Linked DNA regions of Homo sapiens: all the other regions are linked to region 4. Evidence: promoter capture Hi-C in 16 types of primary human blood cells and fetal thymus (Javierre and others, 2016). All regions are on one chromosome and are shown on one strand. Each heading gives the region's core, a stretch centred on a gene start or on the middle of the fragment in contact. The rest is flanking DNA. Distances are from core to core; before and after follow the strand shown.

Region 1 (3,935 bases), core at 871-3,370, 290 kb after region 4:
AAAAGGCAAAAAATACTCAACTTCACTCAATACACTAAAATAAATTCCAAATAGTTTATTATGTAGAGAATATATCTAAATAATAAGTGTAACAGTAAACCTTCTAAAAGAGAATATAGAAAAATAAGTTCATGAAGTTCACGCAAATATGTCTTATATAGAACAAAATCAAAGCACTAACCCTGAAGAGATAGGTTAATGAATTAAACTACAATGAATATAAAAGCTCTTACATCCAAATCACTATTCAAGCCACGCATTCAGAGGGTATAGTTATAATGCATGTAATTAACAAACGACTGTTAAGTAGACTTTTTTTTATTATACTTTAAGTTTTAGGGTACATGTGCACAATGTGCGGGTTTGTTACATATGTATACATGTGCCATGTTGGTGTGCTGCACCCATTAACTCATCATTTAGCATTAGGTATATTTCCTAATGCTATCCCTCCCCCCTCCCCCAACCCCACAACAGTCCCCAGAGTGTGATGTTCCCCTTCCTGTGTTCATGTGTTCTCATTGTTCAATTCCCCTCTATGAGTGAGAACATGCGGTGTTTGGTTTTTTGTCCTTGCAATAGTTTGCTGAGAATGATGGTTTCCAGCTTCATCCATGTCCCTATAAAGGACATGAACTCATCATTTTTTATGGCTGCATAGTATTCCATGGTGTATAAATTCCTTAGAAAAAGATAATCCAATATAACCATTGGGGAAAAGTTTTGAATAAGACTTCAGAAAAGGGGATATCTTTATGACCAATAAATTTATGAAAATGTGCTCTAATTTGTTTGACATAAGGAAAAAAATTAAAACAATTAGATAGCACTAGGCATCATCAGATGGGTTGAAATTTTATGAACTGAAAATACCAAGTATTGGAAAGGTGTATATAACTGTAAAGATATGTGGATCTCATCTATACAAAAAACTAGAAAATATTATTGAAACTAAATAAAAGGAAAAATAAACTGAGAAATAAAACATTTGCATAGATTAGAAAATTCCAGTTCTCCTCATATAATTCTATATATTCGATGCAAAACTCAACAAAATTTCAAAAGGTTGGATGTGTGTGTGTAGGTAAATATGAATGCATGCACAACAGAATATGCTTTATTAAAACATACATAAAAAGCCAAGGAAAAAGGACCTAGAATGGACAGGACAGCTCTAAGGAAAGTCAAATGAGCAACTCTTACTCTTCTAGATATCAAAAATTAATATAAAGTTACAGTAACGAATAGTGCTGTACTGGTACAGGAATTTAAAAAGAAAAACATAATATAAATCCAGGTTAAAGATCTGATGATAATTCATTTAATAAGGAAGCTTGGTTATTTTGTGACATACAAAGTTTAAAATAATAACTCAAATTATAGCTGATCACTTTATACCAGGACATACAAAATTTCTAGAAATTTTATATGATTTCTTGAAAATAGCATTTTACCTATACAAATGTAACCTAGGGAAGGTTAAGCATCACTTCTTATTTGACACATTTCCATTCAGCTTAACATATCAAATAATATAAATTATTTTTACCAGATTCCTTTGCAAAATGAAAGAAAAATTCTCTTGGGTATTTTCCAGGGGCCGTCTGTGATGTCTCAGTCAGTTTTAGGTCAAAAAGACCTCATAAAGCATCCGATTGTTAGAGATTGTCAAAAATGTCAAAAGGTTTAAATAGACGAGTAAGTAGGATCACAGGCCACCATGAAACAACAGTTATCCGTTTAACCAAAGTGACAATAAAAGATTTTAAAGGCAAATACAGAAGCTTACATAGTTGTAAACAAAACCCTTAGCTCTTTTAATATTGTGAAGACTCTTAAGTAATCAAAGACATGATAAAGACAACATAAAACAGAGGAAATTATTCAGAAAAGACACAAAACATTGGTTTCCCAGGCAGATTATGCAAAAGTTAAAGAAAAGCCTTTCACAATCTCTTATTAAGAGCAAACCAATAATCCCCCCACCCAAAATTTGTCTTTTTAACAGAAAGAAAGCCATATTCTAGCTTTGCATTAGTGTACTTTTGATGTTAAGGCTCATATTTTTAAATGTGTAAACAAAGGAATTCAAATCTTAGCCAGCTTGACTACACATAAATTTCATTTTCCACAAGCCTTCTGCAACTTCCTATATCCTTTAGTTTTTGCTCTATATTTTTCTTATTCCTCATTCTGGAACAACTAGTCATCTAACTTTAGGATAAAATTACTCTCTTTTTCCCTTAACAAAAACACATCCTTCATACTCGTATATTTCCTATCAAAGATATATCCTATTTTCCCTGAAAACTTTTGATGAAGAATTGTTTTCCTAATTATTTTCACATATTAATTGTAATGTTTAACCATTAGTAAGGTTTCTTTTATAGAGAAAATTAGGAGGTAGATAATTGTGAAATGTCTTTGTTACATGGCAGCATTCTGTAGCAAGCTTGCAAAAGTGATGAATATACCATTTCACAATTTTAGAGGCATATGCTTCCTCATAGTATAATTTTTCAATGTGACAAAAATTAACAGACTCAAATATATTTAGTCTCTTTATACTGTATAAAAGCAAGATGCCAAAAATATATAAACTTAAACTTATGCTCAGTAATTGTTTCAGTATTTTATCTTATTTGGAAATAATCTAGATATTCAATGAATATGCATCATTTAACTTAGTATAACTTAAGGTTTCAAGTTACCAAAAAGAAACTATTTTTCAGGTAGACTTATTGTAACATTAAGCAAAGTTAGTCATCATCTCAAGTTATTTCCCCCTTAACTATTTTAACCTTATATGACTATTAAACCCAAGTAGAATATAAATGTATGTTTCTATTATACTTAATGCTGATTACCCAGAACACAGCTGTTTTTACTAAACTAACAATATTAAACTAATCTTATTTACCAAAAACTTACCCAAGTCACATGAACTTGAAAGACATTTGAGTTTCTAAATTTCTGTGAGTTTTAGGAATATTTAATTTATATAAGCACTCATTTATCTCTAAGTCAATTTGCATAGAATTCCTCTAAGAAATTGCATAAATTAATTTGATAATACCATTTGGGAGTAGAAAAATATCACATAAACATAACATACATGCATATACACATACAGAAATATACAGACTGTAGAGATCTTAGTGCTTTCATTTTCAAAGTTTAGCCATAAGTTAGTAATACAAAACTCTCTGGTTTATATAAAATAATTGCCTCTCACCTTTCTTCTACTTTATATTTTTATCCAAATCACGTTTCTGGCAAATAGGACAAATTAAGGATATCTGTTCACCAACATTTGTAGCAGACATTTTTAAGACTTTCTTTGTCATCTTAGGGAAGTTGTGGGCTAAAATTTTGGTGAATTATTATGAAGCTGTTTGTGTGTATCCAACACTCACCTGAGTGTACAAAACATCCAGTCTGTTTCCAAAGTTTTTTTTCTGTTTTCAGCCTCTAATCATTGCTTTTGGGGATCCCTCAGGGATCCCTCAGTCTCTTAAGGAGAGCCCCCAATGGAGGCCAAGGGGTCTATAGTTCAAGTGACTGTTGGGAGCTGAGAGGTTGAAGTGGGAAATGAAAAGCCTGGCAGAATGAACAGAGGGATGAAGGTGGTAGAGTTAAAAGGGGGATATATCAAAGGCTTCAAGGTCGCTGAAGGGAAGATCAAAAGTGGTTAAAGAACAAAGGAGGAATGGGAAGGGAGAGGCCTTACAGAAGCCAGTTTGGGGAGATCATAAGTTTCCCAAAGAGGACAATGAAGTTCCAAATTATTCTCTGCAAATTTATGCCAACAGGAAGGAGGTGGACAGATTGGTAGAGCATATAGTCAGTAGGAGTTCAAGAAGGGAGTTTCAGCCAACTGAGAATTTTCCATGAGAGAAACAGGATAAAATAGAGAGAATGGAGAGGCCTCACAA
Region 2 (3,885 bases), core at 1,072-3,571, 370 kb after region 4:
GGGTTTCTGCATGTTGGTCAGGCTGGTCTCGAACTCCCAACCTCAGGTGATCTGCCTGCCTCAGCCACAGAAGAGCTCGGATTACAGGCATGAGCCACCGCACCCGGCCTATTTCTGATTGTAAGATAAGTGCATTCAGTAATTTACAATTGAATACGATGTTTCCTGTAAATTATTTGTAAATAACCTTAATTTTTCATGTTAAGAAAGTTTCCTCTATTCCTTGTTTTCTAAGACTTTTAACAATGAATGGATGTTGAATGCTACCAATGCTATTTCTACATTTAATTAGATAATCATATATGTTTTATTTTAATATCTAAATATGATGAGTAATAATAACACACTTCTTTTTAAAAAATTCTTTTCAGAAAGAAGTCCAGTTTTCCTGAAGTAGTGTCTTGTCTTTAAGATAGTTAGGCTCACTTTGCTGCTAATTTGATCATATTTTTGCATCTTTATATAAACAAGATTAGCCTGTGATACATTATTCTTATATTTTCCTTAAAAGATTTTAGTATCAAAGGATGTCATCAAAATGGTATAGCAGAAACAATCTGACTTTGCTCTCCCCAGCAGAAAACCAAGAACAAATATCCAGCATCAAGATTATCACCAGGGGCCAGGTACAGTGGTTCATACCTGTAATCCCAGAATTTTTGGAGGCTGAGGTGGGCAGATTGCTTGAGTCCAGGAGTGCGAGACAAACCTGGACAATGTGGCAAAACCCTGCTTCCACAAAAACACAAAAAATTAGCCAGGTGTGGTGGTGCACACCTGTAGTCCCAGCTACTTGGGGGGATGAGGTGGGAGGATCACTTGAGCCCAGGAAGTTAAGGCTGCAGTGAGCCATATTGGAGCCACTCCACTCCACTCCACTCCCGCCTGGGTGACAAAGCAAGACCCGGTCCCCGCCTCCAAAAAAAAAAAAAATATATATATATATATAGTAACCAGCAAAATCCTAAAACTCAAATCTGAGGCTGGGGCAATCCCTACAGCCACAGAGAAGTGAGAAACTCCGAGCTTCGGGTAAGAGAAACAAACCTGTCTATCTTTGATACCGATCCTCAATCTGCCAGGCACCATTTGTGGAAAATTCCCCCAGACTCATGGTTTCTAGATCGGAAAAAGTGAGATTGAGGTAGATAGCCAGCTTCTCCACCATCGTGGATTCCCTTGTAGGAAAAGCATTCCTGCCTCAACTCATGGGAAATACCTGTAGGAAGGAAAACCCCAAGGGCAGCTGGAGATAAAGAGGGAAAGTGGGACTAGAAACCCCAGCCTGTGAAACCCTGGTCTTTAAGGCAAAGGAGATGCCAAATCAGAGTGTCTGTTCAGCAGTACGACATTGTATGAGGCACATTCTACCAGTCTTTTGAGCACAAATCCCTAGCCAGATTTCCCTCATGGGTATGGTAACTTCTTTGGGACTTCCTCTCTCTCCTCAGTCAGGGATGGGCAACACTCTGAGCAGTTGCAAGAAGCCCAAGCCAAATCTGGGCTTAAGGCACCATCTAGTGTTGAAAAGGAGGCAACAATGTAGGATAAGGAGACCAACAGGCAGCTAAATATTACCCCATAGCAAACATACCCTAGGAAGACCAAAACAAGCCAGACAGCAAAAACTGTAAATAATCCTCCAATGCAAAGCCATAGATGTATATCCATAAGAAACAACAGCAAACAGGGAACTCTGACCTCCACAAATGAGCAAAGCAATGAGCCAAAGACTGATCCTAATGAGGCAGTGATATATAAGCTCTGTTAAAGAATCCAAAGTAGCAGTTCAAAGGAAACTCAGTGAACTCCAAGATAACACAGAAAAGCAATTCAGAAATTTACTAGAGATATTTAACAAAGATATTCAAATAATTTAAAAATTTAAACAGAAATCCTGGAACTGAGAAATATGTTTGCTAAACTGAAAAATACATTATAGGCTCTCAACAGCACAATGGATCAACAGTGGGAAAACTCAGTTAGTTCAAAGACAGGCTATCGGAAAATACACAGTCAAAGGAGAAGAAAGAAAAAAGAATGGAAAGAAATGAAGAACACTTGCAAAATATAGAGAATACCTTTAAGAGAGCAAATCTAAGTGTCATTGCCATTAAAGACGAAATTGGGAAAGAGAAAGTGTTAGAAAGCTTATTTAAACAAATAATAACAGAAAAGTTTCCAAACCTAGAGAAAGGTATAATCTAGCTACAGGAAGGCTAGAGATCACCAAATGACTTCAATCCAAATAATACCACCCGAAGGCATATAAGACTTTGAGAGTTTACCCTCAAAGGTCAAGGACAAAGAAACGATCATAAAAACAGCAAGAGAAAAGAGGCAAATAACATATAAAAGGGCTCTGATTCATCTGGCAATAGACTTCTCAGGAGAAAACATAAAGGCCAAAAGGAAGTAGAATGACATATTCAATGTGCTAATGGGAAAAAAAAAAACTTTCAACCAAGAATACTGTACCCAGAAAAAGCTTTCCCTCAAACATGAAGGGGAGATAAAGTCTTTCCCAAACAAACAAAAGCTGACAGAAGGAATTCATCACCACTAGACCCATCTTACAAGAAATGCTAAAAGTACTTCAGTCTGAAAGAAAATGATGCTATCATACAAAAGCAAAACATTTGAAGATATGAAACTCACTGGTTGAGTGCAGTGGTTCACACCTGTAATACCAGCACTTGGGAGGCCAAGGGGGGAGGATCACCTGAGGTCAGGAGTTCAAGACAAGCCTGGCCAACATGGCGAAACACCATCTCTACTAAAAATACAAAAATTATCTGGGTGTGGTGGTGGGTGCCTATAATCCCAGCTACTTGGGAAGCTGAGGCAGGAGAATCACTTGAACCCAGGAGGCAGATGTTGCAGTGAGCCGAGATCATACCACTGCACTCCAGCCTGGGTGACAGAGTGAGACTCCGTCTCAAAAAAAAGAAAAAGGAAAGAAAGAAAGAAACTCACTGGTAAAAGAAAGTACACAGACAAACAGACAAATTAACAATATTCTAATATTGTCATTGTGTAATCTACTCAAAAATCTAGAATGAAGACCAAAAGAAAAATCTATAAAAAATAGCTACTGCAGCCTTTTAAGAGATAGGCAATATGAAAAGATGTAAATTGAAAAAACAAGAAGTCAGAATGGGGGGTGGAATTAAAGTATAGAGTTTTTTAGTTTTTCCTTCCTTTCTGTTCTGTGATAAAAGTTAAGTTGTCATCTGTTTAAAATAACTTATTATATTTATAAGATAATTTTGTAAGCCTCATGGCAACCGCAAAGCAAAAACCTATATTAAATACACCAAAAATAAAGCTCAGTGTATTAAAATGTATTACCAGAAAACTTTACCTAACCACAAAGGAAGACACTCAGAAAGAAAGGAAGAGAGGAGTTAAAAAAACAACCAGAAAACAAGTAACAAAATGACAGTAAGTCCTTACCTATCAATTATTATACTGAATGTTAATGGACTAAATACTCCAATTAAAATACATGAATGGGCTGGGCATAGTGGCTCACACCTGTAATTCCAGCACTTTGGGAGGGCGAGACGGGGGATCAGAAACCCTGCCTCTACTAAAAATACAAAAATTAGCCAGTGGCGGTCACCTCTAGTCCCAGCTACTCGGGAGGCTGAGGCAGGAGAATCACTTCAACCAAGGAGGCAGAGGTTGCAGTGAGCCACCACTGCACTCCAGCATGGGCAACAGAGTGAGACTCCATCGCAAAATCAATTAATTAATTAATTAATTAATTTTAAAAATAAGATACATGAATGAATCGATTTAAAAACAGGGTTCAGGCTGGGCATGGTGGCTCATGCCTATAATCCTAGCACTTTGGGAGGCCGAGGCAGGCAGATCACAAGG
Region 3 (3,720 bases), core at 653-3,152, 410 kb after region 4:
TTTGATCCAAAAATACATTTTTATTTCACATAAGTACAGGCAACCTACAACTATTCTGGGGAGCTCCATTGTCAACAATCCAGCTTTCTTCTATCTTATACCACCATCTTCATCATGTGGACTCCACATTACCTCCTGGTTGACAATATCCCTTCCACTTCCAGCAAACTCATTCTGGCCAGCAGGAAAGATTTTTTGTTGTTGTTTTAAAGGATTCTCCCATTCTTCCCTCTAATGACACCTCTCAGCGGATGCACCAAGCACAGTCATTTGTACACTCTTGGCCAAAACTTAGTCTTGTGTCCATAGGACTAGCAATGACAGCTGAAAAATAATCTTTAGGTCCAGCAGCCAAGCTTCCATCTAACATTTGAGGATTCTTACTAAGGAAGAAGGGACGAATGAATATTTGGAACTCTTATTGCAGTCTCCAATACAGTCAGTCCCTTTGGTCACCCAACCACCTGTGCACAACCTTCCTCTCCATAAAGGACCTGTTCATACCCTCCTCAAAAGACACAACAGCAAAGCCCCAACCAGGCACAGCTTCCAGATCAAAGTCCAGGACCTCTGGGAGATAACTCTCAGTCAAGTCTAGATATGGATCTTTGTGATCTGGTGACCTCATCTGCCTCAAAAACACCAAAGATGCAATGGAGGAGCAAGAAGCAGATTAACTGCATGCAATTAAATCTACGATTTGGTAATGGGGAGCAGAGAAAATACACAGCAGTCACTAGTCCATTATAATTAATAAATTCCATTGTTCTTTGGTAGTAGAGTGCTTATTTTGACCATCTGACATCCTGGATTCTGGTCTTGGAGAGTAATTCCCTTGTCCACTGTCCTGTCTAATCTGTTCTCTCTTGTCCATTATCTTCCATGAACAAATTGAAATAGACATTTTATATGGTTTGACTCTGTATCCTCACCCAAATTTCATGTTGAAATGTAATCCCCAGTGCTGGAGAGGGGGGCTGGCGGGGGGTGATTTGGATCATGAGGGCAGTTTCTAATGGTTCAGCACCGGCCCCCAGTGCTGTTCTCATGATAGAGTTCTCATAAGATCTGGTCATTTAAAAGTGTGTGGCACCTCCCCTCGCCTTCTGCTCCAGCCACGTGCAGATTGTACGTTTCCTGAGACCTCCCCAGAAGCCAAGACAATGCCAGCATCATGCTTCCTGCACAGCTTACAGAACCATGAGCCAATTAAACCTCTTTTCTTTAAAAATTACCCAGTCTCAGATATTTCTTTATAGCCGTGTGAGAACTGACTAATACAACATTGGAAAGTATTACCTACTTGGGTGTTGCACAACTTCCCACTCTCTGTTTTGGAGGCCTGGGCTTTAGGGGTGGAACAGTCACAGGCTTTTACAGCCAGGCTTGTGATTCCTCTGTCAGTATAATTCCTTCAAAACCTTAGTAGAGTTATGATCTGTTTGCCTGTGGTTAGTTCCAGACATCCCACATGCAAATATTCCACAACCAAATGCATCTGCACATCGTTTTTAAATCTGAAGACTCTGGTCTGTGCTTACTGGCTTCTCTCCTCTATCCATGCCTCTTAAGCCATAAAGTTAATGGCAGCAGTCTAGAAGCCCTCAGAAAGAAAAAAAAAAAAAAACCCTTGTTTTAGCATAAAAACAAGATTCTTAATCTGATCTTTGCTGTTGCACTGAGCTCTCATTGTCTGGCAGAAAACTCTTAATAAAAGGTACTGAAAAAGGTTTAGGACCACAGTTTTATCTCCTGCTTAGGCTGTCTTTTCACAGCCACAGCATATAACTGCTTCCCTTTGAGGTATGCTCCTGATTTTCTTTACCAAACTGCAAGGCTCCAATTCCAGACCTTCAGTCAATTTAAATTAGAGGCCTCAGGCACGGAGCACCTGCAAGAGAGCTATACCTCCAACAGTCTGTATCTCTGTTAACAGACTGGTGAGCTCTAGCCTGAATTTATCTCTTTTCTAGAACTTGGATGAAAGCAGTAAGAAGCAGCCAACCAACCCCAATACTCTGCCTTTTTGCCATCCTTTTCACTGACACCACACCAGGTGGCAGACAGTTAAGTTTTCCAACTGTTGCAGTTTCTTTTATCCAAATGTGTTGCCCCTGCATAACGAGAGTCACCAGACTTTCAGCCTCCAAAATCTGAGTCTTTGCTGCCTACTAGATATTGTTATAGAACCAAACTAGGTTCCATTTGCCCAGTGCAGTTAAGTCCAGATATCCACAAAAAGGTTATTGCAGCAGTAGAAAGGGAGCCATTTATTTGCAAGACACCAAGCAAGGAGAATCAGAACAGCTCATGCTGCTTAAAACCCAAACTCCCTGATGGCACACAGGTAAGGGTTTTTAAAGGCAAGAGTTGTGTCTCTGCCAGGTTTTGGTATCAGGATGATGCTGGCCTCATAAAATGAGTTAGAGAGGAGTCCTGCTTTTTCTATTGTTTGGAATAGTTTCAGAAGGAGTGGTACCAGCTCCTCTTTGTACCTCTTGTAGAATTCGGCTGTGAATCCATCTACTCCCAGGTTGGTTTGTTTCTTTGTTTTTTGTTTGTTTGTTTTGAGACAGAGGCTCGCTGTGTCACCCAGGCTGAAGTGCAGTGGTGCAATCTCGGCTCACTGCAACTTCCACTTCCCGGGTTCAAGCGATTCTCCTGCCTTAGCCTCCTGAGTAGCTGGGATTGCAGGTGCCCACCACCACGTCCAGATAATTTTTGTATTTTTAGTAGAAACAGGGCTTCACCATGTTGGTCAGGCTGGTCGCGAACTCCTGACCTCATAATCCCCCCACCTCAACCTCCCAGAGTGCTGGGATTACAGGCATGAGCCACCGCGCCCAGCCAGTAGGCTATTAATTACTCCCTCAATTTCAGAACTTGTTATTTGTCTATTTAGGGATTCAACTTCTTCTTGGTTTAGTCTTGGGAGGGTGTTTATGTCCAAGTATTTATCCATTTCTTCTAGATTCTCTAGTTTATTTGCATAGAGGTGTTTACAGTATTCTCTGATGGTAGTTTGTATTTCTGTGGGATCAGTACTGATATCCCCTTTATCATTATTTATTGAACTAAAGAGCTTCTGCACAGCAAAAGAAACTATCATCACAGTGAACAGGCAACCTACAGGATGGGAGAAAATTTTTGCAATCTATCCATCTGACAAAGGGCTAATATCCAGAATCTACAAAGAACTTAAACAAATTTACAAGAAAAAAACAAACAATCCCATCAAAAAGTGGGTCAAGGATATGAACAGACACTTCTCAAGAAGATATTTATGCAGCCAACAAACATATGAAAAAAAGCTCATCATCACTGATCATCAGAGAAATGCAAATCAAAACCACAATGAGATAGCATCTCATGCCAGTTAAAATGGAGTTCATTAAAAAGTTAGGAAACAACAGATGCTGGTGAGGCTGTGGAGAAATAGGAAAGCTTTTACATTTTAGGTGGAAGTATAAATTAATTCAACCATTGTGGAATACACTGTGGCCATTCCTCAAGAATCTAGAACCAGAAATGCCATCTGACCTAGCAACCCCATTACTGAGAATATACCCAGAGGATTATAAATCATTCTACTGTAAAGACACATGCACACATATGTTTATTGCAGCACTGTTCACAATAGCAAAGACTTGGAACTAACCCAAATGCCCATTAATGATAGACTGGATAAAGAAAATGTAGCACATATACACCATGGAATAC
Region 4 (3,790 bases), core at 230-2,729:
TTTCTTGGGAATAGAAAATGACATACGTATGTAAATCACTTAGCACCATTTATGGTAAACTAAGTATTCAGTAAATGTTAGCCATTATTTTTATTATACGTTTCAGTGCTCAGTCCCACTATTCATACCAAATAGTGCTTATTAGGTTGAAAACCAATAATATATATGGTCGTTTTTGGACAAAACATTCTCAGTTGAGGGGAAGAATCAATCTGTTAAAAGTTTAGAGAGATGAAGAACTCTTGGAGAAATGGAATATTTTGCCTGAGAAAAAAGATTATTAAGAGAAAAGCTGAATAAGATGTTATCATTATTTAAGACTGTATTAAATGTTGAAAATAAAATATTCACCCATTTTATCAAAAATTAAATATGTAAGTAATTAAGAAGTAGTAAGAGCTTACATTAGATTGCACTTAGGGTCTGGAAAGATGTGAGACATTTAAGAAGTGAAAGAAAGCTGACTGAAGTCAGCATGAAAAATCATTTTTTGAAAAATAATATATATAATTTATCTTCATTTTATTCTCATCTAGAAGCAAAACAGATTATTTTAATTTCTAAGATTTATTTCTATCAAACTCATTTCAACATTAGAATTTAATATTATTATTAATAGTAATTATTCCTCACTTGACAATAATATCCTTAACATCAAACTCAGCTTGTTTGCTGCGTATTGTCAACATAATGTTCTGAATCTAGTGAATGACAATAATTCAATACATATTATTACGTAGAAAAAAGCTGAATGATAATGAGTATGTGGAATCAGAGAATATAAAAAAACAAACTTATTAAAATAAATTTATATCATAAATGTTATAAACATTGTAACATTATAAATGTTAATAAATGCATTGCTGATGACATTTTTTACCTGGAAAAGGGAGTTATTCCCGCAGAAGCCAACAACAAGTAGTCAGTTTGTGACTTATTTTTCAAAAACTTACAGGTTTTAAGTTACTTTTACCTTGTATTGTTTAGTAACTGGTCAGATTCTGGTAAAAATCAATCAGCAGAGTTCCAATGTTTTCCTCTGTTTATTGTTTTAATTCTAGAAAGGATAAACATAAAGTTAATTAATGACTGTCATAATTATAAATACTGAAAAATAATTACTTTGAAATAAAATGAATCATTCCCCACAAATCCACATTTATTATTACAGTTTTAGATTCTTCCCATAGATAAATGTGGCTTATGTGCCTCATTGCTCTATTTTAAAAAGTCTTTTTTTCAGTAGTTGATTTCCTGAAAAGTTTTATAGTCCTTTTTAGAAGAGAGTCAAGGTGAATTTTTCAAATCATGTTCTGCCAAAACTGAAGTGATTCCAGGAACAAAAATCTATAGATAAGCAAAGTGAACCTGAGGAATCAATCCACAAGATATTATCTATCCTGAATTCTCAGAAACTTGTATGCTTTCAAGGCAAGAGGATAGATTGCCATGGATATGCAAGTAGAGGTCCTGAGCTCTTTGGCATCTCTGAATACTGCCAAAATATCAACAGCAGTTATCCACGAGGGCTTCGGTTTTGCTACAGCTTTTTCATATAATTACAGTATTGAGATTTCCTCTATGTTCTGGGAGACAGTACCTCTGGGAGAGAAGAACACAAGTCAATTAATTAGTAAGACTTCTAGGATCTAAAAGCAAGATCCATGAAGACCTCAGAGATTCTATATTTTTTTAAAAAGCCTAAGAGTACTTAAAGTACATATGAGACATTCTTTAGGAAAAATCACAAGGATCTTTTAATTTTAATTTCTTCACTGAAAAAGCAGCATTTTCAATTTATCATTATAGCACAGTTTTTGATAAGCAAGTAGAAATAGATACGAAAGGAAATGTTGTGGTTCATAATGCCATTTGTAGGAAAATTTTGAGTCCTAATCATAAAGTTAATTTCATATTTACTTTCAGAATTCTATTCACCCAAATCTCTCCTTGATGACTTTTTAAACTATATTTTCTCAATAGTAATTGAGAAGAAAGATAGAACAGCACGACCATGATATGGGCAAAAATCCAACAAACGCCCTCTAATCCATCAAGTAAAGGCCACATGATTAACTGGATCTAAAGTTGGGTTTATATTGTAATTTTAATTGCTTTAAAGTTGTTTATTCAGGTGTCATGTATTAAGTTAGTAACTTCTCATCAGTCCCTGTATATAGTTCAAAATAATTTAAAGAACTGTTGGTTCCTTCCGGTGAGTGTTAAAGTTCTTAAAGGTGGTGTGTCCGGAGTTTGTTCCTTCAGATATTTAGATGTGTCCAGAGTTTCTTCCTTCTGGTGGGTTTGTGGTCTCACTGACTTCAAAAGTGAGTTACAGCTCTTAAAATCTCTTAAAGGTGGCATGTCTGGAGTTGTTCGTTCCTCCCGGTGGGTTTGTGGTCTCGCTGACTTGGAACCAACCCAAATGTCCAACAATGATAGACTGGATTAAGAAAATGTGGCACATATACACCATGGGATACTATGCAGTCATAAAAAAGGATGAGTTCATGTCCTTTGTTGGGACACGGATGAAGCTGGAAACCATCAGTCTCAGCAAACTATGGCAAGGACAGAAAACCAAACACCGCACGTTCTCACTCATAGGTGGGAATTGAACAACTACAACACTTGGACACAGGGTGGGGAACATCAGACACCGGGGCCTGTCCTGAGGTGGCGGGGGGGGACAGATAGCATTAGGAGATATACCTAATGTAAATGATGAGTTAATGGGTGTAGCACACCAACATGGCACATGTATACATATGTAACACACCTGCACGTTGCGCACATGTACCCTAGAACTTAAAGTCTAATAATAATTAAAAAACAAAAACAAAAAAAGAAAAGAAAAAAAACAAAAAGGAGTGAAGCTTCAGACCTTTGCAATGAGTGTTACAGCTCATAAAGGTGGCACCTCCAGAGCTGTTCTTTCTTCGGGTGGGTTTGTAGTCTGGCTTGCTTCAGGAGTGAAGCTGCAGACCTTGGTGGTGAATTTTACAGCTCATAAGGGCAGCAGGGCCCCAAAGAGTGAGCAGCAGCAAGATTTGTTGCTAAGCTGAAAAACAAAGCTTCCACAGGGTGGAAGGGGAATCTAGTGGGTTGCTTTTATCCCCTTATTTGTCCTCACCCACGTCCTGCTGATTGGTCCATTTTACAGAGCACCGATTGGTCCATTTTTCAGAGTGCTGATTGGTCCGTTTTTACAGAGTGCTGATTGGTGCATTTACAAACCTTTACCTAGACACAGAGTGCTGATTGGTGTGTTTACAATCCTTTAGCTAAACAGAAAAGCTCTCCAAGTCCCCACCCCACCCAGAAGCCCAGCCAGCTTCACCTCTCAGTTGGTTCAGCAAAATGAATGTAAATTCAGTAAGGAGACTGAATTTAGAGCTCATTTTATCAATTGTTGTGTTCCCCTAGTAAAATTATCTCTCCGTTAAGCAGTAAGAATATTCATTCAGCAGGGACAAATGTCATGCAAGCATCCAGCAAAAAAAAATTGAGAGTGAGTTGATAGGTTTTACAGTGGTGGCTGACAATCCCATTTTGACTCCTTGTACTTGGACCTGTAATTGTTTCATATATTTGTCGCTAATGAAGAGCACAGATTATATCCTGGATGACAGTTACTCACCTTTCTAAAGTAATGACATCCAGTTGGTCCAACAACTGAATCTTTAATAAATTATTCCGGTCGCTGCCGCCGATGCTACCACCGCATTTGGATGTAGAATTTGGAATCCCTGTGCACCTGTTAACAAGGAAGCAGAGTTTGAACTGCCAA
Region 5 (3,955 bases), core at 445-2,944, 390 kb after region 4:
CTGAGCGAATTCGCCACTACCAAGCCACCACTACAAGAACTGCTAAAAGGAGCTCTAAATCTTGAGACAAATCCTGGAAATACACCAAAACAGAGCATCTTTAAAGTATACATCTCACAGGACCTATAAAACAAAAACACAAGTTAAAAAGCAAAAAAAAAAAACCAAGGTACACAGTCAAGAAATAGCAAGATGAATGGAATGGTACCTCACATCTCAATACTAACATTGAATGTAAATGGCCTAAATGCCCCACTTAAAAGATACAGAACTGCAGAATGAATAAGAATTCACCAACCAACTATCTGCTGCCTTGAAGAGACTCATCTAACACACAAGGATTCATATAAACTTAAAGGGGTGGAAAAGGGCATTTCATGTGAATGGACACCAAAAGCAAGCAGGAGTAGCTATTATTATGTCAGACAAAACAAACTTTAAAGCAAGAGCAGTTAAAAAAAACAAAGGGGACATTATGTAATGGTAAAAGGTCTTGTCCAACAGGAAAATATCACAATCCTAAACATATAAGCACCTAACATTGCAGCTCATAAATTTATAAAACAATTACTAATAGACCTAAGAAATGAAAAAGACAGCAACACAATAATAGTGGGGGACTTCATCAATACTCCACTGACAGCACTGGACAGGTCATCAAGACAGAAAGTCAACAAAGAAATAATGGATTTAAACTATACCTTGAAACAAATAAACTTAATAGATATATACAGAACATTCCATCCAACAACTGCAGAATACACATTCTATTCAACAGTGCATGTAACTTTCTCCAAGATAGACCATAAGATAGGCCACGAAATGAGCCTCAATAAATTTAAGAAAATTTAAATTATATCGAGCACTTTCTTAGACCACAGTGAAATAAAACTGGAAATCACCTCCCAAAGGAACCTTTGAAACTATGCAAATACATGGAAACTAAATAACCTGCTCCTGAATGATCATCAGGTCAAAAACAAAATCAAGATGTAAATTTAAAAATTATTCGAACTGAATGACAATAGTGACATAACCTATCAATCCTCTGCAATACAACAAAGACAGTGCTAAGAAGAAAGTACATAGCCCTAAATACCTACATTAAAAAGACTGAAAAAGTGCAAAATGACACTCTGAGGTTATACCTCAAGGAACAAGAGAAACAAGAACAAACCAAACCCAAACCCAGCAGAAGAAAGGAAATAACCAAGATAAGAGCAAAACTAAATGAAATTGAAACCAAAAAAATACAAAAGATAAATAAAACAAAAAGCTGGTTCTTTGAAAAGACAAATAAAATTGATAGACCAATAGCAAGATTAATAAAGAAAAGAAGAGAGAAATCCAAATAGCATCAATAAGAAACAAAACAGCAGATGTTACAACTGACACCACAGAAATACAAAAGGTTATTTAAGGCTACTATGAACACCTTTATGCACATAAACTAGAAAACCTAGAAGATATGGATAAATTTCTGAAAAAATACAACCCTCCTAGCTTAAATCAGGAAGAATTAGATACCCTGGACAGACCAAGAATAAGCAGCAAGATTGAAATGGTAATTTAAAATCACCAACAGAGAAAAGTCCAGGACCAGACAGATTCATAACAGAATTCTACCAGATATTCAAAGACCAATTGGTACCAATTCTTTTGACACTATTCCACAAGTTAGAAAAAGAGGGAACCTGCCTTAATTCATTCTATGAAGCTAGCATCAACCTAATACCAAAACCAGGAAATGACATAACCAAAAAAGAAAACTACAGACCGATATCCTTGATGAACATAAATGTTAAAATCCTTAACAAAATATTAGCTAATAGAATCCAACAACATATCAAAAAGATAATCCGCCATGATCAAGTGGCTTCATACCAGGGATGCAGGGATGATTTAACATATGCAAGTCAATAAATGTGATATACCACATAAGTAGAATTAAAAACAAAAATCACATGATCATCTCAATAGATGCAGAAAAGGCATTTGACAAAATCCAGCATCCCTTTTAATTAAAACTCTGAGCAAAATCAGCATACAAGGGGCATACCTCAATGTAATAAAAGCCATCTATGACAAACCCACAGCCAACATAATAGTGAATGGGAAAAGTTGAAAGCATTCCCTCTGAGAACTGGAACAAGACAAGGATGCCCACTCTCACTATTCCTCTTCACCATAGTACTGTAAGTCCTAGCCAGAGCAATCAGACAACAGAAAGAAATAAAGGGCATCCAATTAGTAAAGAGGAATTCAAACTGTCACTGTTCGCTGATGATATGATTGTTTACCTCGAAAACCCTAAAGACTCCTCCAGAAGGCTCCAAGAACTGATACAATAATTCAGCAAAATTTCTGGATACAAGATTAATGTACACTAATCAGTAGCTCTTCTATACACCAACAACGACCAAGCAGAGAATCAAATCAAGAACTCAACCCCTTTTACAATAGCTGCAAAAAAAATTAAAACAAATACTTAGTAATATACCTAACCGAGGAGTTGAAAGACCTCTACGAGGAAAACTACAAAACACTGCCGAAAGAAATCATAGATGACACAAACAAATGGAAACACAAACCATGCTCATGGATGGGTAGAATCAGTATTGTGAAAATGACCATACTACCAAAAGCAATCTACAAATTCAATGCAATCCCCATCAAAATGCCACCATCATTCTTCACAGAATTAGAAAAAAAAATTCTAAAATTCATATGAAACCAAAAAAGAGCCCACATAGCCAAAGCAAGACTAAGCAAAAAGAACAAATCTGGAGGCATCACACTGCCTGATTGCAAATTATATTATAAGGCCATAGTCACAAAAACAGCATGGTATTGGTATAAAAATAGGCACATAGAAAAATGGAACAGAATAGAGAATTCAGAAATAAACCCAAATACAGCTAACTGATCTTCAACAAAGCAAACAAAAACATAACGTGGGGAAAGGACACCCTTTTCAACAAATGGTGATGGGAAAATTGGCTAGCCACATGTAAGAGAATGAAACTGGATCCTCATCTCTCTCCTTATACAATAATCACCTCAAGATGGATTAAGGACTTAAATCTAAGACCCAAAACTATAAAAATTCTAGAAGATAACCTTGGTAAAACCCTTCTAGACATTGGCTTAGGCAAGGATTTCATGACCAAGAACCCAAAAGCAAATGCAATAAAAACAAAGATAAATAGCTGGGACTTAATTAAACCAAAGAGATTTTGCATGGCAAAAGGAACAGTCAGCAGAGTAAACAGACAACCCACAGAGTGGGAGAAAATCTTTACAATCTATACATCTGACAAAGGACTAATAACCAGAATCTACAATGAACTCAAACAAATCAGAAAGAAAAAAACAAACAATCCCATCAAAAAGTGGGCTAACGACATGAATAGACAGTTCTCAAAAAAAGATATACAAGTGGCCAACAAACATATTAAAAAAAGCTCAACATCACTAATGATCAGGGAAATGCAAATCAAAACCACAATGTGATACCACCTTACTCCTGCAAGACTGGCCATAATCAAAAAATCAAAAAACAGTAGATGTTGGAGTGGATGAGGTGATCAGGGAACACTTCTACACTGCTGGTGGGAATGTAAAATAGCACAACCACTATGGAAAACAGTGTGGAGATTCCTTAAAGAACTAAAAGTAGAACTACCATTTGATCCAGCAATCCCACTACTGGGTATCTAGCTAGAGGAAAAGAAGCCATTATACGGAAAAGATACTTGCACTTGCTTGTTTATAGTAGCACAATTCACAGTTGAGGAAATATGGAACCAGCCTAAATTCCCACCAGTCAATGAGTGGATAAAGAAACTGTGATAGATGATAGATAGATAGATAGATAGATAGATAGATAGATAGATAGATAGATAGATAGATAGATAGATAGATAGAATACTACTCAGCCATAAAAGGAATGAAT
Region 6 (3,684 bases), core at 464-2,963, 350 kb after region 4:
AATGCGTCCCAGAGATTCTGGTATGTGGTGTCTTTGTTCTCGTTGGTTTCAAAGAACATCTTTATTTCTGCCTTCATTTCGTTATGTACCCAGTAGTCATTCAGGAGCAGGTTGTTCAGTTTTCACGTAGTTGAGCGGTTTTGAGTGAGTTTCTTAATCCTAAGTTCTAGTTTGATTGCACTGTGGTCTGAGAGACAGTTTGTGATAATTTCTGTTCTTTTACTTTTGCTGAGGAGTGCTTTACTTCCAACTATGTGGTCAGTTTTGGAATAAGTGTGGTGTGGTGCTGAGAAGAATGTATATTGTGTTGATTTGGGTTGGAGAGTTCTGTAGATGTCCAGTAGGTCTGCTTGGTGCAGAGGTGAGTTCAATTCCTGGACATCCTTGTTAACTTTCTGTCTCGTTGATCTGTCTAATGTTGACAGTGGGGTGTTAAAGTCTCCCATTATTATTGTGTGGGAGTCTAAGTCTCTTTGTAAGTCTTTAAGGACTTGCTTTGTGAATCTGGGTGCTCCTGTATTGGGTGCATATATATTTAGGATAGTTAGCTCTTCTTGTTGCATTGATCCCTTTACCATTATGTAATGGCCTTCTTTGTCTCTTTTGATCTTTGCTGGTTTAAAGTCTATTTTTTCAGAGACTAGGATTGCAACCCCTGCCTTTTTTTGTTTTCCATTTGCTTGGTAGATCTTCCTCCATCCCTTTATTTTGAGCCTCTGTGTGTCTCTGCACATGAGATGGGTCTCCTGAATACAGCACACTGATGGGTCTTGACTCTTTATCCAATTTGCCAGTCTGTGTCTTTTAATTGGAGCATTTAGCCCATTTGCATTTAAGGTTAATATTATGTGTGAATTTGATCCTGTCATTATGATGTTAGCTGGTTATTTTGCTCATTAGTTAATGCAATTTCTTCCTAGTTTCGATGGCCTTTACAATTTGGTAAGTTTTTGCAGTGGCTGGTAACGGTTGTTCCTTTCCATGCTTAGTGCTTCCTTCAGGAGCTCTTGTAAGGCAAGCCTGGTGATGACAAAATCCCTCAGCATTTGCTTGTCTGTAAAGGATTTTATTTCTCCTTCACTTATGAAGCTTAGTTTGGCTGGATATGAAATTCTGGGTTGAAAATTCTTTTCTTTAAGAATGTTGAATTTTGGCCCCCACTCTCTTCTGGCTTGCAGAGTTTCTGCCGAGAGATCCGCTGTTAGTCTGATGGGCTTCCCCTTGTGGGTAACCCAACCTTTCTCTCTGGCTGCTGTTAACATTTTTTCCTTGATTTCAACTTCAGTGAATCTGACAATTATGTGTCTTGGAGTTGCTCTTCTCGAGGAGTATCTTTGTGGTGTTCTCTGTATTTCCTGAATTTGAATGTTGGCCTGCCTTGCTAGGTAGGGGAAGTTCTCCTGCGTAATATCCTGCAGAGTGTTTTCCAACTTGATTTCATTCTCCCTGTCACTTGCAGGTACACCAATCAGGCATAGATTTGGTCTTTTCCCATAGTCCCATATTTCTTGGAGGCTTTGTTCATTTCTTTTTACTCTTCTTTCTCTAAACTTCTCTTCTCACTTCATTTCATTCATTTGATCTCCAATCACTGATACCCTTTCTTCTAGTTGGTTGAATTGGCTACTGAAGCTTGTGCATTCATCACGTAGTTCTTATGCCATGGCTTTCAGCTTCTTTTAAGGACTTCTCTACACTGGTTATTCTAGTTAGCCATTCGTCTAATCTTTTTTCAAGGTTTTTGTCTTCTTTGCAATGGTTTCGATCTTCCTCCTTTAGCTCGGAGAAGCTTGATCATCTGAAGCCTTCTTCTCTCAATTCATCAAAGCCATTCTCCATCCAGCTTTGTTCTGTTGCTGGTGAGGAGCTGCACTCCTTTTGAAGGGGAGGGGCGCTCTGATTTTTAGAATTTTCAGCTTTTCTGCTCTGCTTTTTCCCCATCTTTGTGGTTTTATCTACCTTTGGTCTTTGATGATGGTGATGTACAGATGTGGTTTTGGTGTGGATGTCCTGTTTGTTAGTTTTCCTTCTAACAGTCAGGACCCTTAGCTGCAGGTCTGTTGGAGTTTGCTGGAGGTCCACTCCAGACCCTGTTTGCCTGTTTATCAGCAGTGGAGGCTGCAGAACAGTGAATATTGCTGAACAGCAAATGTTGCTGCCTGATCGTTCCTCTGGAATCTTCATCTCAGAGGGGTACCCGGCCGTGTGAGGTGTCAGCCTGCCCCTACTGGGGGGTGCCTCCCAGTTAGGCTACTTGGGGGTCAAGGACCCACTTGTGGAGGCAGTCTGTCCATTCTCAGTTCTCAGATTCCATGCTGGGAGAACCACTACTCTCTTCAAAGCTTTCAGACAGGGACATTTAAGCCTGCAGAGGTTTCTGCTGCCTTTTGTTGGGCTATGCCCTGCCCCCAGAGGTGGAGTCTACAGAGGCAGGCAGGCCTCCTTGAGCTGTGGTGGGCTCCACCCAGTTAGAGCTACCCAGCCACTTTGTTTTCCTACTCAAGCCTCAGCAATAAAGAGCACCCCTCCCCCAGCCTTGCTGCAGACTTGCAGTTCGATCTCAGACTGCTCTGTGAACAATGAGTGAGGTTCTGTGGGCATGGGACCCTCTGATCCAGGTGCAGGATATAATCTCCTGGTATGCCCTTTGCTAAGACCACTGGAAAAGTGCAGTATTAGGGTGGGAGTGACCCAATTTTCCAGGTGCGGTCTGTCACAGCTTCCCTTGGCTAGGAAAGGGAATTCCCTGACCCCTTGTGCTTCCTGGGTGAGGCAATGCCTCAGCCTGCTTCAGCTCATGGTCGGTGGGCTGCACCCACTGTTCTGCACCCATTGTCCAACAAGCTCCAGTGAGATGAACCCAGTACCTCAGCTGGAAATGCAGAAATCACCCATCTTCTGCATCACTCACACTGGGAGCTGTAGACTGGAGCTGTTCCTATTTAGCCATCTTGGAACTGCCCCAGGCTCTTTTTCATAAAGGCATCAGTAGAATTTTCATGTCCCTGATAGATACCAGACAGCTGGTTTAATTGATAGACATAACAGTCTCCTCAAACAATCCTTTTTCAAATTTCTTCCCATAAAATGGACCGTGGAATGTGTCTCTATATTGCCCCAGGCCTTAATCTCCCTTAAATCAAGGACGTTTCAGTGACTCACGTCTCACACCAATTTTTTAAAAACTTTCCCATTGCCCTTTCCTACATTTAAAGGGGGGATATATCTCCCCTTCACATATATAAATATTCATTACACGTGAGACTCCTAAATATATCTTCCTCATACTTATAAATGTTTAATCTTGCCTCTATCCCATAAATGCTGGAGGCCAATTCAAAGGTGTGTAGTCTTCCCAGGACCTATTTGAGTCTAAATTCTCACCACCTCTACCACAAAAAAAAAAAAAGAAAGAAAAAGAAAAAACACTGTCAAGTGCAGCTGTACACCATTTTGTTAACTGTGGGTATCACTACTATTGGTCTGGGTGCTTTCATTGGTCTGCAATCCAGACCTTCCAAGTAATTGCTCAATCAATTATGGGAAATGCTGAGGCCCACATGCCATCAAGTTTAGTTAATACAAGCCCTCCAACCCAAACCTTGTAAGCTTGCTCATCACCAACCAAACCAACAATTGAGGCAAAGAGCCCACAGTCATTTAACAAATTAGAGGTCTGCCCAT

What was found. Contacts are between HindIII fragments. The CHiCAGO score rates a contact against its expected background, and 5 or more counts as called.
Region 1: a fragment that was not itself captured here is called in contact with the fragment with the promoter of OR9K2 in region 4 in 3 of 17 cell types (total CD4 T cells, activated CD4 T cells and non-activated CD4 T cells); the score reaches 6.1 in total CD4 T cells.
Region 2: a contact is called between a fragment that was not itself captured here and the fragment with the promoter of OR9K2 in region 4, in 11 of 17 cell types (naive B cells, erythroblasts, activated CD4 T cells and 8 more). The highest score is 9.2, in naive B cells.
Region 3: a contact is called between a fragment that was not itself captured here and the fragment with the promoter of OR9K2 in region 4, in 9 of 17 cell types (naive CD8 T cells, activated CD4 T cells, total CD4 T cells and 6 more). The highest score is 10.9, in naive CD8 T cells.
Region 5: a contact is called between a fragment that was not itself captured here and the fragment with the promoter of OR9K2 in region 4, in 5 of 17 cell types (activated CD4 T cells, total CD4 T cells, naive B cells and 2 more). The highest score is 12.4, in activated CD4 T cells.
Region 6: a contact is called between a fragment that was not itself captured here and the fragment with the promoter of OR9K2 in region 4, in 4 of 17 cell types (naive B cells, total CD4 T cells, non-activated CD4 T cells and 1 more). The highest score is 6.1, in naive B cells.

Annotation. Positions count from the first base shown.
Region 1 is chr12:54,830,357-54,834,291 of GRCh38, reverse strand. It overlaps a transcript of MUCL1 not described here. Among named protein-coding and RNA genes, the nearest start is that of MUCL1, 22 kb to the left of the region's middle. The HindIII fragment of the contact is 668 bases long and covers 1,787-2,454 here.
Region 2 is chr12:54,757,555-54,761,439 of GRCh38, reverse strand. No RefSeq gene overlaps it. Among named protein-coding and RNA genes, the nearest start is that of MUCL1, 95 kb to the left of the region's middle. The HindIII fragment of the contact is 338 bases long and covers 2,153-2,490 here.
Region 3 is chr12:54,714,087-54,717,806 of GRCh38, reverse strand. No RefSeq gene overlaps it. Among named protein-coding and RNA genes, the nearest start is that of DCD, 68 kb to the right of the region's middle. The HindIII fragment of the contact is 3,088 bases long and covers 359-3,446 here.
Region 4 is chr12:55,124,095-55,127,884 of GRCh38, reverse strand. It overlaps OR9K2 (olfactory receptor family 9 subfamily K member 2), which reads right to left and starts at 1,479. Exons shown (of 3, transcript NM_001005243.2): 1 at 1,369-1,479; 2 at 974-1,057. It also overlaps the pseudogene LOC644383. The HindIII fragment of the contact is 7,142 bases long and covers 1-2,878 here.
Region 5 is chr12:54,738,254-54,742,208 of GRCh38, reverse strand. No RefSeq gene overlaps it. Among named protein-coding and RNA genes, the nearest start is that of DCD, 92 kb to the right of the region's middle. The HindIII fragment of the contact is 7,865 bases long and covers 1-3,955 here.
Region 6 is chr12:54,776,041-54,779,724 of GRCh38, reverse strand. No RefSeq gene overlaps it. Among named protein-coding and RNA genes, the nearest start is that of MUCL1, 77 kb to the left of the region's middle. The HindIII fragment of the contact is 157 bases long and covers 1,635-1,791 here.